2 separate regions of the Homo sapiens genome follow, and region 2 is linked to region 1. The links are contacts of gene promoters, found by promoter capture Hi-C in blood cells and fetal thymus (Javierre and others, 2016). All regions are on one chromosome and are shown on one strand. The core of a region is centred on a gene start or on the middle of the fragment in contact, and the rest is flanking DNA. Distances in the headings are between cores, read along the strand shown.

The links. Contacts are between HindIII fragments. The CHiCAGO score rates a contact against its expected background, and 5 or more counts as called.
Region 2: a contact is called between a fragment that was not itself captured here and the fragment with the promoter of PDGFC in region 1, in 1 of 17 cell types (M0 macrophages). The highest score is 5.4, in M0 macrophages.

The regions. Positions count from the first base shown.
Region 1 is chr4:156,967,601-156,974,744 of GRCh38, reverse strand. PDGFC (platelet derived growth factor C) reads left to right here and starts at 2,946. Exons shown (of 6, transcript NM_016205.3): 1 at 2,946-3,959. The coding sequence starts at 3,842. RefSeq lists an enhancer at 2,659-3,159. The HindIII fragment of the contact is 8,294 bases long and covers 1-7,144 here.
Region 2 is chr4:157,980,565-157,987,708 of GRCh38, reverse strand. LOC105377509 (a long non-coding RNA gene) reads left to right here. Exons shown (of 6, transcript XR_007058347.1): 2 at 1-3. Among named protein-coding and RNA genes, the nearest start is that of GASK1B-AS1, 190 kb to the left of the region's middle. The HindIII fragment of the contact is 8,793 bases long and covers 1-7,144 here.

The sequences.
Region 1 (7,144 bases), core at 1,697-4,196:
AAACAGAAAAATAAAGAGCAAGAAAACGTAGATTTTTTTTTTTGGTGGCAAAAATATGTCCCCATGGTTCCCGCCCCTTTGAGTGTTAAGTGGCTAGCTAAAGGAGTAGGTTGCTTTAAAATCTTATTTCACTTAAAAACATTTAGTAGTGACACCCCCTCCCCCAAATTATCATTGTTAACCACCAAGTGTATTCTTTAGTAAGAATTTGTGGTAATACTCTTCATGCATGCAGCAGCAATGGGCACTCCTTCTTAAGGTTTAAGAAAACATGAAAACCACAAAGAATGTCTGAAATTATTTTCTCTTGGTTGGCGGAACAGATGCCTTTCATCAAGGAAAATGCCTTTGGCCAAAACAAAGCCATATTCATTTAAAATATATTGTTTAGTAATTGCACAGACTCTGGATTATATAAAATTTACTTTCAATGCAAAGATTTCATTTTTCTAGAAAAGGTTAACAAGCAAAATAGAGCAGGAAGACAGGCAGAGGATAATGTGTTAAAAGAATCAACTACGTCAAGGGCAAGAGCAGTTCAAGAAATGACAATGCAAGTACATTGAAAGGAAATTGGCCAATGTGGATGTGATTTTGTCTAGGGGTCATTCAGGAACACCTGGCTGACTTTATTTATAAGGCGATTGTCAAATCAATCTGTAGAATATGGATGAGGTGAAACGCAGAGGTAGAGTATTATTCTAGATCATCTGTAACTTTTCAAATACAACTATCGCACTGAAATTCCAGGGAGAATGTAAGTGACTCCAATAAAGAAACCTGTCAGTCAGTCAAGAGTGTTTATTTATTATCCCCCTGTGCCAAGCAATATTCTAGCCAATATGAAATGATACAAAATAAAGAGTAGTCATCACCCTTCCAATCTCCTGAGAGCAAATGGATTACATTTGCAGACACACACACACACACACACACACACACACACACACACACCCCACCTCTATGTGGGTGGTCAGGAAACTCAACTATATGGACATATAACAATTTCATTTAGAAAAGTGCTGATTAGAAAACTAAACTTACAAAATTAGAAAAACTGGAGAATAATGAATTTTATGAAAAATAGATTACAATGGATTCATAAGGCATGCCCTTTATTTAAGTCCCATTATGTTATTAAAATTGGGAATAACCCTTCACCCTCACAAATTTACAAAATATTTTTGGAACACATTATGCAAATATGGAGTCACACTGGTGTTGTGGAGCTGCTAACTCGAATAAAATACCATACTTGATAAAAAACCTTCTGTCCACTAAACTGTAAATGCCTTAAAGTCAAAGATCAGGCCTTATTTGCCTTTAGTGTATATTTAGTACTCTGTAGATAGAAGTGGTAAAGGGATAAGAATGAATGAATGAGACAGGCGGGTGAAATTTTCAAGAATGAGACAGATGGGTGAAGTTTTCAAAGGTTTCTAAAAGGGAAAAACAAGAAGACTAGGATATTCCAAGCAGAAAGGTCTGGTTGGTTGGCCCCAGTTGGTGTTCGCATATAAGAAGAGGGCTTGGCATTTTCCTCACCACTGAAGAAGGATCAGCCCCTGGTTTGGTCCAGTAAGAATATGTTCTTGCCCAAATGCCACTCCTTAGTTTCAGGGACATTGCTATTTTGGTTTTCTGTTCCAGCCCAAGTGTTCTTGATGGTCGAATTGTTTGCATTGACTTTTTTTCCACAAGAAGTTGGGTGATATTGCTGATTTGCCTGCCATGGCACTTCCTTGTTTTCATTTTGATTATTACTCAAAAATAGCTTCATTTTAAAATTCAACTTTTCTGACTCTCTGCTTGTGCCTTTAACACATTGACAATGATTTTCTGCTTCTCCACAAAGAAAGCACGTTGGATCCTGTCACAGACATATTTAGCAGACATGGAACCACCATAAGCCCTGCTTGGCATGTGTGTTTCATTTCAGACTACCTCATGAGAACTTTAGGTCTTAAAGCATCGGCCTCTCTCTCCAAGTCAGCCTGAACACAAGCCACAAGAGATTTCAGTTCTTTCTCGACCTTTTTGGTGTAAATGTAAACAATTCTATCACCAGGGGTTCAGGGCAGCCTAGTTTTGTTAGAGGCTGTATTGTAGGAAAGTCCAAGGTTGCAGGATCATTCTGAGTCCCTTAGACACCATTCTCAGAAGAGCTTGCTATTAGCTTAATGCTGCCCAACTACTACGTATGCTTCACGAGGGCAGGGACTTTTGTCTGTTTTCACTGCTACGGCTCCAACCTCTAAACAGTGCCCGACATAGTAGGCATTCAGTAAATATAGTACTTGTTAAATGGATGTTATTTTGGCTGCCTTTACTTTTGCTTTATTTGTCCTGCTTTACGGAGCTGGAAATTGGAGGAAAGCCTTTGAATTCATTTCCCTTCTTCCTTCTGTTCTGAAACTCTGGCCAAGGGTCCTAGCAAAGACCTTAGGGAGTGGGGAGCCCTCCTGGAAACTAATGACAAGTCAGGCGACAGGGGGCGGGAGAAGGAGAGCTGCAGGAAGTTCTTTCCCACTTACTTCTGCAGCACCCTTCACCACCCATCGTGCTCTGTATTTGGGGTTAGAGGTGTTCCGTGGAAGGGAAAGCAGGGGCCGCCTTGGCCGCGTTCCTCTCCTGGGCCACCGGGGTCTTGCCCACAGCGAGTCCCGCAGCACCCCCTGTCTGCGCAGCACCTGTTGACAGCCAGTGGGCGGCCAAGCCCGCTCGCGCGGACGCGTCCCAGGGCTGCCCCTCCCAGAGGCGCTGACCCCCGCCCGCCCCATCGGCCGCCTGCGGGAGAGCCGCTGAGCCGCCCCCGCTCGCCAGGCGCGCGCTCCGCCCGGGCTCGGCCCACGGCCCCCACCTCCTGTCTGCCGCCCGGCGGGGGGAAGGTAGAGAAGGGGAGGGGACAAGCCGGATCCTCCCGGCCGCCCCGGCCTTCCCTCTTCACCCCGTGCGGAGACGCCGCGCGTAGCCCCGAGGTTAGCGCGGAGCCCGAGGCGTGGGGGGAGGGGACGGGGAACAACCGGAGCCCCGCGGTGACCCCGAGCGGCCGAATTGCCCCAGGCTTTGAGGAGCGGGGGACGAGCCCGAACAAGGTGAACTTTGGTCGCGGAAAACTCAAGCCAGGTGCCGGAATCCGTGCTGCGGCGCTCCGAACCCGGGGCCAACTGCGCTCCGGGCTGAGGAGCGGGAGCCCCGCGGCCTCTCTCCGCCTGCGCCCGGGCCGCCGTCGGCCCGGAGCCCCCCGGCCCCGCTCCGGCGCCCCGGCCCGTGGGACCCGCCGCGGCGCCCTCGCCTTGTTTCTTCCCCCTCCCCCTTCGGGGGTGGGGGGTGGGGCGGGGGAGAGGGGCGCCCGGAGAGCCGCATCTATTGGCAGCTTTGTTATTGATCAGAAACTGCTCGCCGCCGACTTGGCTTCCAGTCTGGCTGCGGGCAACCCTTGAGTTTTCGCCTCTGTCCTGTCCCCCGAACTGACAGGTGCTCCCAGCAACTTGCTGGGGACTTCTCGCCGCTCCCCCGCGTCCCCACCCCCTCATTCCTCCCTCGCCTTCACCCCCACCCCCACCACTTCGCCACAGCTCAGGATTTGTTTAAACCTTGGGAAACTGGTTCAGGTCCAGGTTTTGCTTTGATCCTTTTCAAAAACTGGAGACACAGAAGAGGGCTCTAGGAAAAAGTTTTGGATGGGATTATGTGGAAACTACCCTGCGATTCTCTGCTGCCAGAGCAGGCTCGGCGCTTCCACCCCAGTGCAGCCTTCCCCTGGCGGTGGTGAAAGAGACTCGGGAGTCGCTGCTTCCAAAGTGCCCGCCGTGAGTGAGCTCTCACCCCAGTCAGCCAAATGAGCCTCTTCGGGCTTCTCCTGCTGACATCTGCCCTGGCCGGCCAGAGACAGGGGACTCAGGCGGAATCCAACCTGAGTAGTAAATTCCAGTTTTCCAGCAACAAGGAACAGAACGGTGAGTCTTTCCCCCATTCTCCCCCTGCTTGTTTCTCGCTGTGTGTGTTAACGTTGGCATTGTGCGTTGGTATGTGATATATACCAGACTGTGAAGGTATCTTTGGTCTCTCATTACATGCAAATGTGCGCTGCGTTCATTGGCATGGACTGTTAAAGGTTAAGTGTAGTTTGCAACTTCGGGAGCTGCCACAAAGCTCCAAGAGGGCAACGTGAGTGCCACTGCTGAGTGAGGACATTCTGGGAGCGATTGTGAACGTCATTTCAAATGCACATTGCAGGTTCGCTCATTGCTAAAGTTAGAAGTTCAAGAACTGCCTCTAAAAACGAATCCAAAATGAATGAGCCTTGGCATGTTTGACTTTACTCAGATTTGGGGAGGGCGAGGGGGGTCGGTCAGGAAATATATCAGCCGCATTAATTGAAGCACTCTAGGTCGAAGTCATCAATTAATCAATGAGTAGATAGGAAATATAGAGGTCAAGAGGCTGTGTGGTCGTTTTTAGAGGAATTAAAAAGTGTATTTCTCTTGCTCCCTAGTTTTTGTTTTTTAAACTTGCCTTTGTACTCTGAAGTCCTTACCTTTCTGGTGGTGTGTTTTTGTATGTGTTGGTGAATGACTGCTATTTTGTGTGTGCTGGAAACGACTTAATCCTGCATAGGAAATGAGAATTACTTTCAGCTTTCAAGTGTACCTGAAATGTTTAGAAAACTCTCAGATGCAAGTTCCCTTGGGCTGGGATTGCACAGAGCTGGAGAAAGGCTCCTTTCATAAAGCCAGGGCAGCTTCAGGGTGTGTAATTTGCTTAGCCTCTGAACCCATATGATTTACATCATTCAATTTCTAAACTCTTTTTCTCTTCATCTACCATTATGAAGTCATTTTTGAGAATACTTTGTAAATAGAAATTTTATACTGCACATGAAACCACAATGTTCATGTTAGGCTGTCTAAAATTGGAATATTTAACGCCCTGTTTACAAATGGTGGCTCTTACTGTAATTTGAAAAGGAATATACATGTTTTTACTGCTTTGTATATCATCTATTCAGAATGCAAGGATTCTGTCACTTGATTAACCATGCAAAATGAACACAAGTGGCATACCTACAAAATTAAGATAGGATGTGCTATAGTTTTAAGTCAGAGTGATTTTTTTTCCTTTTCATATTGGGGTGTTTCAAGACTTCAACTTTGAATTTAAACTCTATGAAGTGTTCATGTTTAAGAAAGCACAGAAAGTTTTAGGGTATAAAAGTAGATAAAATAAGGATTCTGCCGACTTTTGCAAACGTTATTTGTATTTGCTGTTGCGCAGCAAGACATAGTATCACATTTATCAGCTAATATTAGTGTGGTGCTTCTTACAACTTGCTAATGTGATGCCACATGGCACCTGCAGGCTCCTTGAGCTGCTGATCAAAGGGCAGCCTAGGGATGTATCTCTAATCACAGTAGCTGCAGAGGTCTGGGGGAAAGTGATCAAAGGAGCCACAGCACCAGCTGTACCCGTGCAGGAAACACATCAGACCAACCTTTGTTCTTTCTCATGTAAAATAAATGTCCAGTTCAAAATATTGCTTCTTACTAGCCAAGCTCCTCCATAATGACAACAATGCACAATATTCCTGGCTTCCTGGCTTCTGTTTTTTATTGTTCCTGTCCCATATCATTTCTCCTATTGCCTTGTCTTATCAAGCCTCTCTTGGCATCTGCCCGAATCTCTTTGCTGACCTGTGCTTCTCTTTGTCCTTTCCTTTTAGTTCTCTCTTGTGATCCCCATGCTATCATCACTTTGTAAGGGTCCCAGAGCTGTCATGCAGCATGTGGTCATAGGCCACTTTACCCAAGTAGATTCACACCTCCAGGAGAGATGAGTTCATTAAGCCAGGCCACACACATTCTGTTGCCATCTGAGGCTGGGCCATTTCCATTCCTAAGATGCATGATGCTAAAAATTGCTGCTTGTTTCCTAATCTGTGGGTAGAGGATTAGGCTATGTTTGGGGGTTGGTCTATGTTAAGGATGGCAGCAGGAAGTAACTAGAAGTAGAGGAACTACTTGTAGTTTTTAGCCCAAGGAGAAGTGGCACTGGCCAGCACTAGGGGGCAATATAGAGCTATTTTCTTGCACATGCTCAGGTTGATTTTTATACGTAAATGTTTCAAGATTTGAGGGTAACAGGTGGGTGCTGAAGAAGATTCCCCTGGAATGTAACCAGATTTGTTAGAGCTACTACCATTACCGTTACTACTACTACTTCTACTTCTTCTTCTTTTTGTCTTTCAAATTTTCCATTATGTGGGTAATCTTTTGCCCACATACTGAATTATGATTGAATTTTGATTGCCCTGTTGCTGTCTCAATTTTGACAGTTGTACAGTCCTGTAAATACGAACCCTCCTTGAGGATACCACGTAGAAGATCCCATTGGCCCAGTTTGTGCATTGCATCGTTTTGTGACAGGTCTTCTCTAACTCTGAAATGTCCAAATTGATATATTATGACTGTAGCAGCTCATTCTTGTCTCCAAGGACCCCTCCTCATGATACTCTCTTTTCTTGAGTATTCTAAAGTCCCTAATGGTGATTACTCAATCAGGTACCTCGGGCTGCTCAGTTTTAATATTAACTTGGTATTTCAAGAGGAGGTAGAATTGGAAATTGATTGCTGTAGCCAATGCTGCATACATGGATTTAGACTGGATCATGTGGACATGGTTCAGAATTAGCTTTGAAGGGTTAGTGTCATTTACACTATTGTTAGGTATCTGGTTTTTGACCTACCATTGGATTGCAATTCTTGCCACTTTTACTGTACAAAGTTTTATCCTCTAATATTATAAGTTGACTTCATATACTATACTTAATTTTTAACCTTACTTCTGACCCTGTCTCACTTATGAAAACAAGAGTCTTCAGATTTAACTTGAGGAAAGAGATTAAAAGATAACATTGACTTGCTTGGAGGGTGTCTGGCCTGTATACTTGTTGTATGACCATGGTGAAAAATACTCATATTTTGTGCACACTGGTTTTAGATGAGAATGCCTATTGTGGAATGATTAAGTTCTGGGACGGTGCTTCTGAGTTGTAGCAGAAAGAATCATACACCCAGGAACAAAACAAAACCTACTTTGTCTGTTGCATACAGCACAAAGAGATGTCAATGACAAAGTTGTTGGT
Region 2 (7,144 bases), core at 3,101-5,600, 1.0 Mb before region 1:
ATGGTAAGTTAATAAGACACCTGGAATTGTGAAACACTAGATTTCTCTAAACTTCCTAGAAGGTTTTTTGACTCCATGAAGTGCATGTCACTCTCATCCCAGGATGAGTTCTAGATTTTTCTCTTTATGGTTTTCAAGGGCAGATTTCATATGCTTAAGAAAGTCACTCTACTAATTTTTGACTTTTAAGTTACATTTACATGGTAAAGTTCTTCCATATGTCTAATCACAATAGTTCGCTTAATTTATGCTAATTATAAAGATCTTTACATTTTTATGTTATTCAACATCATGTTGACTGTAATTCTTAAAAGTTAGGCTCTTTTATGTGTTACAGATTTTCACCCTCCTGTAAGTAGTTGGAGTGTAGGAACCATGGCTACGCATCTTTAAGACTCGATTACATTTAGCATATTAGAAATGCTGAGTTAAAGTATTGTGGGAAACTAATACTTTTAGCATTAGAATATATAGGTTTGGGTATCAATGATTCTGTCAACTAACTGTGTGATTTTGCTCAATCCCTTAAACTTTTAGGAGAGTCTCAGTTTTCCCATTTGTTAATGCAAGATGTTTATCCTTGCAAATTTGAGGGTTGTGAGGGTTAAGTAAGAAGAATATGAAAATACTTTGTGGTCTCTAAAGCACTTTAACCACAGAACTTTTAAGTATTAGTTGAAATGAACAAATGAATGAACACCCTCTGGTGGACTCCTGAAAGTTATTTGTCTCCTGCAGCTAAACATGAAGACACTTTCATGTTTTATTAAAAAGAGTATAATATGGGGTAGTGATTAGAGGAGGGGTGAAAGATTATCTTGCCCACCGAATTTCCAATAATCTCCCTGACAATATGCCTAAAATACTCTTAATTTTCAATCTTGTGTATTAAATCTTTGAGTCCTCAGGAGGCACCTGCTAATATTTTAAAAAGCAACATAGGAAGTAATTTAACGTATCAATGTACATGTTTATACAGACTAATATATCAACAGAGAGCAGAACCTAAAGAAGGAAGTTCTAGGAAAGATAGGCCGTAGAGAGACCTATGCTTCTTCTTTTTTTTTTTTTTGAGACGGAGTCTTGCACTGTTGCCCAGGCTGAAGTGCAGTGGCGCGATCTCGGCTCACTGCAACCTCTGCCTCCTGGGTTCAAGCGATTCTCCTGCCTTAGCTTCCCAAGTAGCTGGAATTACAGGTGCCTGCCACCACGCCCAGCTAATTTTTTGTATTTTTAGTAAAGACAGACTTTCACTATGTGGGCCAGGCTGGTCTCAAACTCCTGACCTCGTGATCCGCCCGTCTCGGCCTCCCAAAGTGCTGGGATTACAGGCATAAACCACCGCACCCGGCCAAACCTATGCTTCTTTAGAGTAAAAGTGCGCAGTGATTCTGGGGAAAAACTAGAAACATTATTTTGAACAGATGTGATGCTTTTATTTACTACTTTATGTAATCTCTTTCCAGACTTCAATTTTAACATGTAATTAGGCATTCAACCCTTCTCCATATTTTAATTTAATTGACTGCTATAGATTTATGCAATAGTAAAAACTCCTTTGAAAATATGGTAAGAAAGAATGGTTACCCACTGCCTGCAAATCCTTGGCAAGCCCTCAGAAAACCCATTTGTAGTAGACGTTTTCCTAATTTTACTCTGAAATGGTGTGCAATGATGATTAAACTATTTCTTAATGAAATTAAACAAAAAGTTTACCAAAATATATGAAATCAAGATAAACACAAGTACATTTCACAGTTTTATGTAATTTATTATTTATGTTACATAACTTATTATTTTTGAAAGATATATACAACCCATGCAATTTTCAGTATTTTTTAATATGTGTAAACCTAAGGAATAAAAACTGTAGCCAGCCTGGTGTGGTGACTCACGCCTGTAATCCCAGCACTTTGGGAGGCCGAGGCAGGCAGATCACTTGAGGTCAGTTCGAGACCAACCTGGCCAACATGGTGAAACCCCATTTCTACTAAAAATACAAAAATTAGCTGGGTGTGGTGGCATGAAACTGCAATCCCAGTTACTCAGGAGGCTTAGGTAGGAGAATAGCTTGAACCCAGGAGGTGGAGGCTGCAGTGAGCTGAGATCGGGCCACTGTACTCCAGCATGGGTGACAAAGCCAAACTCCATCTCAAACAAACAAAAAATTTGTAGCTATTCCTGGATTCTGATCTGCTACATTGTTCATCTCACAGTCAGTTTGCATGCAATGCGGTAAATACACTATGTATAATATAGTCTCTAGATGGAATTATTTACAAGCCAACTACCATTTGTTAAGCATCTATTAAATGTAAAACACTCTGAAATATCTGTTGGTGTAACTGTATGTGTGTGGGGTACGGGAGTGCATAGATTTCCTCTTCGAACATATTTTGAGCACTCACCATGTACTTGACCCTCCACTGGGTACTGAGGTGGTCAGAGCTTACATCATAGTGGAGAGAAAGATAAGCAAGAAAATTACGTACATCATGCTAGATGGAAATGAGTGCTATGGGGAAAAGTAAAGGAGGCAGGTACATATGAGTCCAGAGTGGGAGCTGTAATTCCACCTTACATGGTTAAGGATGAATTCTCTGAGAAGCTGGTGTAGAACCAAAACCAAACAAGGTGAAGGGGCCAGCCATGAGGATATCTGAAGGAAAGCCATTTCAGCCAGAGTAGCCAAGTGCCAAGACCCTGAGGCCAGAGCATGGCCCAGATACATGGAACTGCAACATGGTCTATGTGGCTAGAGCAGAGTTAGAGAGAAGGAAAGTAACAGGAATGATTTTGAGGAGAAAAGGGGAGAGTAGATAATGCAGGTCCTATAGACCATTCTAAAGACCTCGACTGTCATTTTGGATGATAGGAAAAGTCATCAGAGGTTTTAAGCAGTGAAATGACATAATATGACTCATTTTAAACAAGAAAAATAAGACAGGAGTTTCTTCTGGTTTATTTATTTATATTTTAGACATGCCTCACTCTGTCATGCAGCTGGAGTGCAGTTGCATAATCATGGTTCATTGCAGCCTCAAACTCCTGGGCTCAAGCTATCCTCCTGCCTCAGCCTCCTGAGTAGCTGGGACTCCAGGTGTGCACCACAATTCCTGGCTAAGTTTTTTATTTTTTGTAGGGAAGAGGTCCCATTATCTTGCCCAGGCTGGTCTCAAACTGGCTTGGAGCTTGGCTTCCATTTGTTTCACCTCCCAACGTGTTGGGATTAAAAGCGTGAGTCACCACACCCAGCCATGATTCACTTAAAAATTTTAAATAGACCTAGAAGAAGAAAGTGTAAAAGCAGGAGGTGATCCTTTATGCTGTTATTAATAACTCGGTTAAGAGTGGATGTTGGATTGGACCAAGGTGACAGGGGTTAGGTAAGATATGGTTGGGTTTTATAATAGATGAAGGTCTACCTTATAAGATTTGCACATGAAATAGATGTGGGTGTGAAAGAGAGAAATTAAGAACAACTCTAGGCTTTAGGGCCTGATAAACTGGAAATATGGGGTTGCCACTGACAGCAGTGAGGAAGGAAATAAATGCATCAAGGAGAAAAGTTAGGATTTTGGTTTTGAAGAGTTTGTGTTTGTGATTAGACTTCCAAGTGGAATGCAGGGTAAGCAACTGAACATTTGAACCTAGAGTTGAGAAGTCCAGTCTGAGCTAGAGTCAAGTAAAAATATAATACTTGGGAATTGTATATTTATGTAATATTTACTATCAAAGATAGGATGATATCATCAAAGGAAAGAGTAATATTTAGGGCAGAGAAACGGTCTTAGGTTTGAGGCTTTCCAATGTTTAAGAGTTTGGGTAGAAAGAGAAAATAGCAAAGGAGGCTAAGGGGGAGACCAGAATGGGGAAAGGAAAACCAGGAGAGTGTGGCATCCTGGAAGAAGGAGTTTCCAGGCAGTGGATTTGACATCAACTATGTTAAATGCTTTCGATAGATGGTCTAATATGCATATAGAGCCTTGTCCTTTGGATTTAACAATGGAGAGCTCATTGGTAATATTTTCATTAGAAATTTCATGGAGAGGAGTGGGTAAGAGTTTGACTGACGTTGCCTCAAGAGAGGATAAGAAGGGAAGAATTAAGAGGGGAGAAGTAAAAGCATGTATTTTATGTGCATGGAAATGATTCAGCGGAAAGGAAAATGATGCAACAGGATAGAGAATTGCTGAAGTCACAGCTTCGAGCCAGTTAGCAGTGCTGGAATCTCACGCACAAGTGTAGGATTTGGCATTCTTCACTCAAATTAGGAGAGATGGAGGGTTAGATAATAAGCCCAGCTGAAATTAAGTGGAAAACTGCGGAGGTGGGAGCTTTTGGAAGTTCTCTTGCGACTGCTTCTATTTTCTCAGTAAAATAGAAAGCAAGGTGGCTTCATACTCTCAAGGAGTTTAAAATACAGTGGAAGAGACAGAGGAACATACTATATCAAGGCTGAATATTATCAGAGTTAAGGCAGATATATGTGTTGTATTGAACAAACATGACTCATGGGATGTTATTATAAAACAACTTTATTTTTGTCCTCCTTTAAATTATTCTATGCGGCCAGTCTTACTTCCCACCGGATGAAACTTAGGACAAGTCACCACATTTTTTTCCAGTCATGTTCATTAATAAAAATATTGTAAGGAGCAATTAATATGTCCAGTGTAATAATCAAAACTTTATAAATATTATTCAAAGATAAAACAACTCTGCTTTACCAGTGCTGACCATTTACAAGTTGGTTGCCTTAATAAGAAAGAGGCATATTAATTGGGGTATTTTCCTTTTCTATTTTCAATCCCTTCCCTGCAACAGTTGCCATTCTGAACCCCTCTAGTGTTTGACACAGTGTGGGTAGTATAGAAGATTGAGGAAGGAGTAGGACAGTTCTTACTTAGTTAACACCATCATGAGCTGGCATTATATACTGTGGGTCTGCAAGGTTTAAAGCTGACCTTGACTTCTCTTGGGAGACTTGTAGTAGTTATGATGTGTGTGCTGCATCTTGTCCGGCTGGCTTACTGTCATCTCATACAGAAGGAAAGATAATACATGCTGACTATAACCAATCAAACTTACCTTCAAAAAATTAAAATAAGAATATTCAGAGTTGGTCAGCAAACAAGATGTAGAGAAGAAGAAAAATAAATGAGACAGAAAGAAGTGTGGAGTAGAAGCCCTGGGACAAAATAAGCCCTGAGCAACTGGTATCATGAAATGTAAAGTGAGTAAAGGGAGGTGTTGGCAGCTCAATGGAAGGACTGAAACAACAGAAGATTCAGAGTAGCTGAATCATCAAAATGATGATGCACTAGACTCTAGAGCCATATTTGTAAGGTACCATGGGTTTATAGATGTTCAGAGATGTCATTGACATCTAAGAGTAGCTTGAGTTAATCACACAGTGGGTCTAGACAATCACGGGGTTGAAGCTGAGTGCTTGGCCTCTCATTCTCCACCCAGATTGGGCTCCTCCATTATTCTGTCCATCCCTGATAAAGGCATCACCAACCAGCAGCTTCCTAACTCTAAAATCATGGACTTTAGTCTTTGTTCTTCTTTCTTCCCTCCCATGCATGCAATTCGCCAGTTTTAACTCTGCACAAGTCTCAAAGAAATCGCCTTCTTTTCTTCTTCACTACTACACTCTGTTTTAAATCACAATAATTTCCTACCCGTAGAATTATAATGATACTTCTATTTCTACTGTCACCCACTTCCAATTCATTCTCCATTTAGCAAAGTGATTCTCCTAACAGTGTAAGTTAGATGATTTTATTCATCTTTAAAAACCCTCCGAAGGCTTCCTATTGCACTTAGAATAAAATGCAGTTTCCTGGCCCTCACCACAAAGCCTTGGCTCATCTTACTCTATGACCACACTGGCCTACTTTTTCCCACTCGAACTTGCCAGGATTATCTCTGCCACTGAGCCTTTGCACACCCATTCCCATTCCCTTTACCTGGGCTGGTCTTCCTTCTAGCCTTAGCATGGCTGGATCCATCTTGACATTCAGCTGTCAACCTAAATGTCATCTCCTCAGAGATGCCTTCACATTCACCCAACTTCAAGTAACTATCCATTTGTGGTCTAGACCTCACCCATTTTAAATCTCTGGCATAGCACTGGTGATTCTTTCTGGGTGGCTTTTTTGTCAGTGCATTTGATTGTGTGTGTGTATGTGTGTGTGGTTTATTGATCTATTTTTGCTTGATAGGAAAGTCTGTCTCTATTGGAAGGCCAGAGAAGTAGGTTAAGTAAAATGTTCACATTTACAGGTTAGACAGCTGTTATTTTCTTTTTTTTAAAATTATACTTTAAGTTTTAGGGTATATGTGCACAATGTGCAGGTTTGTTACATATGTATACATGTGCCATGTTGGTGTGCTGTACAGCTGTTATTTTCACTTAGTCTCTAAGTTTTGATTTTTTGACCCAGCAGAAAATTTGTTCTCAAAATCCCTTCCTAGGGGTAAGAGTATAATTAGTCTGAAAACTATTTGTCTTAATGACAAACTGACACCAGTTAAGATAAAAAAACTTGAGAGACATTTTCAACAAATTTATGTCTCTTTTGCTTAAAAAAAATCTATCCTGACACATATTCAATATTGGCACAGTCACTATTCCTTGCATTCATTTATTTATTGGATTTATGAAGAGCTTTCTCCTCCACTAACTCAATTTAATTTTATTCAGCTTTGTGGTTGTCATAGTTCATATTTGTCTATGTGAAGGTATCAAATCTGGCCAGGTTTGATTGGGTAAGAACATAATTCTCTGTTTTCCCTACTCATACCAATATTAATAACTGAAAGATAAGAATTAATGTATTTCCAAACAATTCTGAACTCATATTCAAAGACATTTACATTCTAATTGGTTAATGGTTCCAAACAGCAGTGTCCCAAAGTGGGTTTGGATTATAAACTTAAAGTATTTAGGCCCCTGATTTGCATTCTGTTCTTTTTCCTTTCTATTAAATCTGCTTATAATAGCAAATGTCATTGCTACACACACCTGTGAACAAAAATCTGCAAAGCTAAAATGCAAGAGTTGCTATTTGGTAATTTACTTCTTTTCTGTAGTTAAACGTTATATTATATATTCTCTAAAGGGAAGTGATGATAT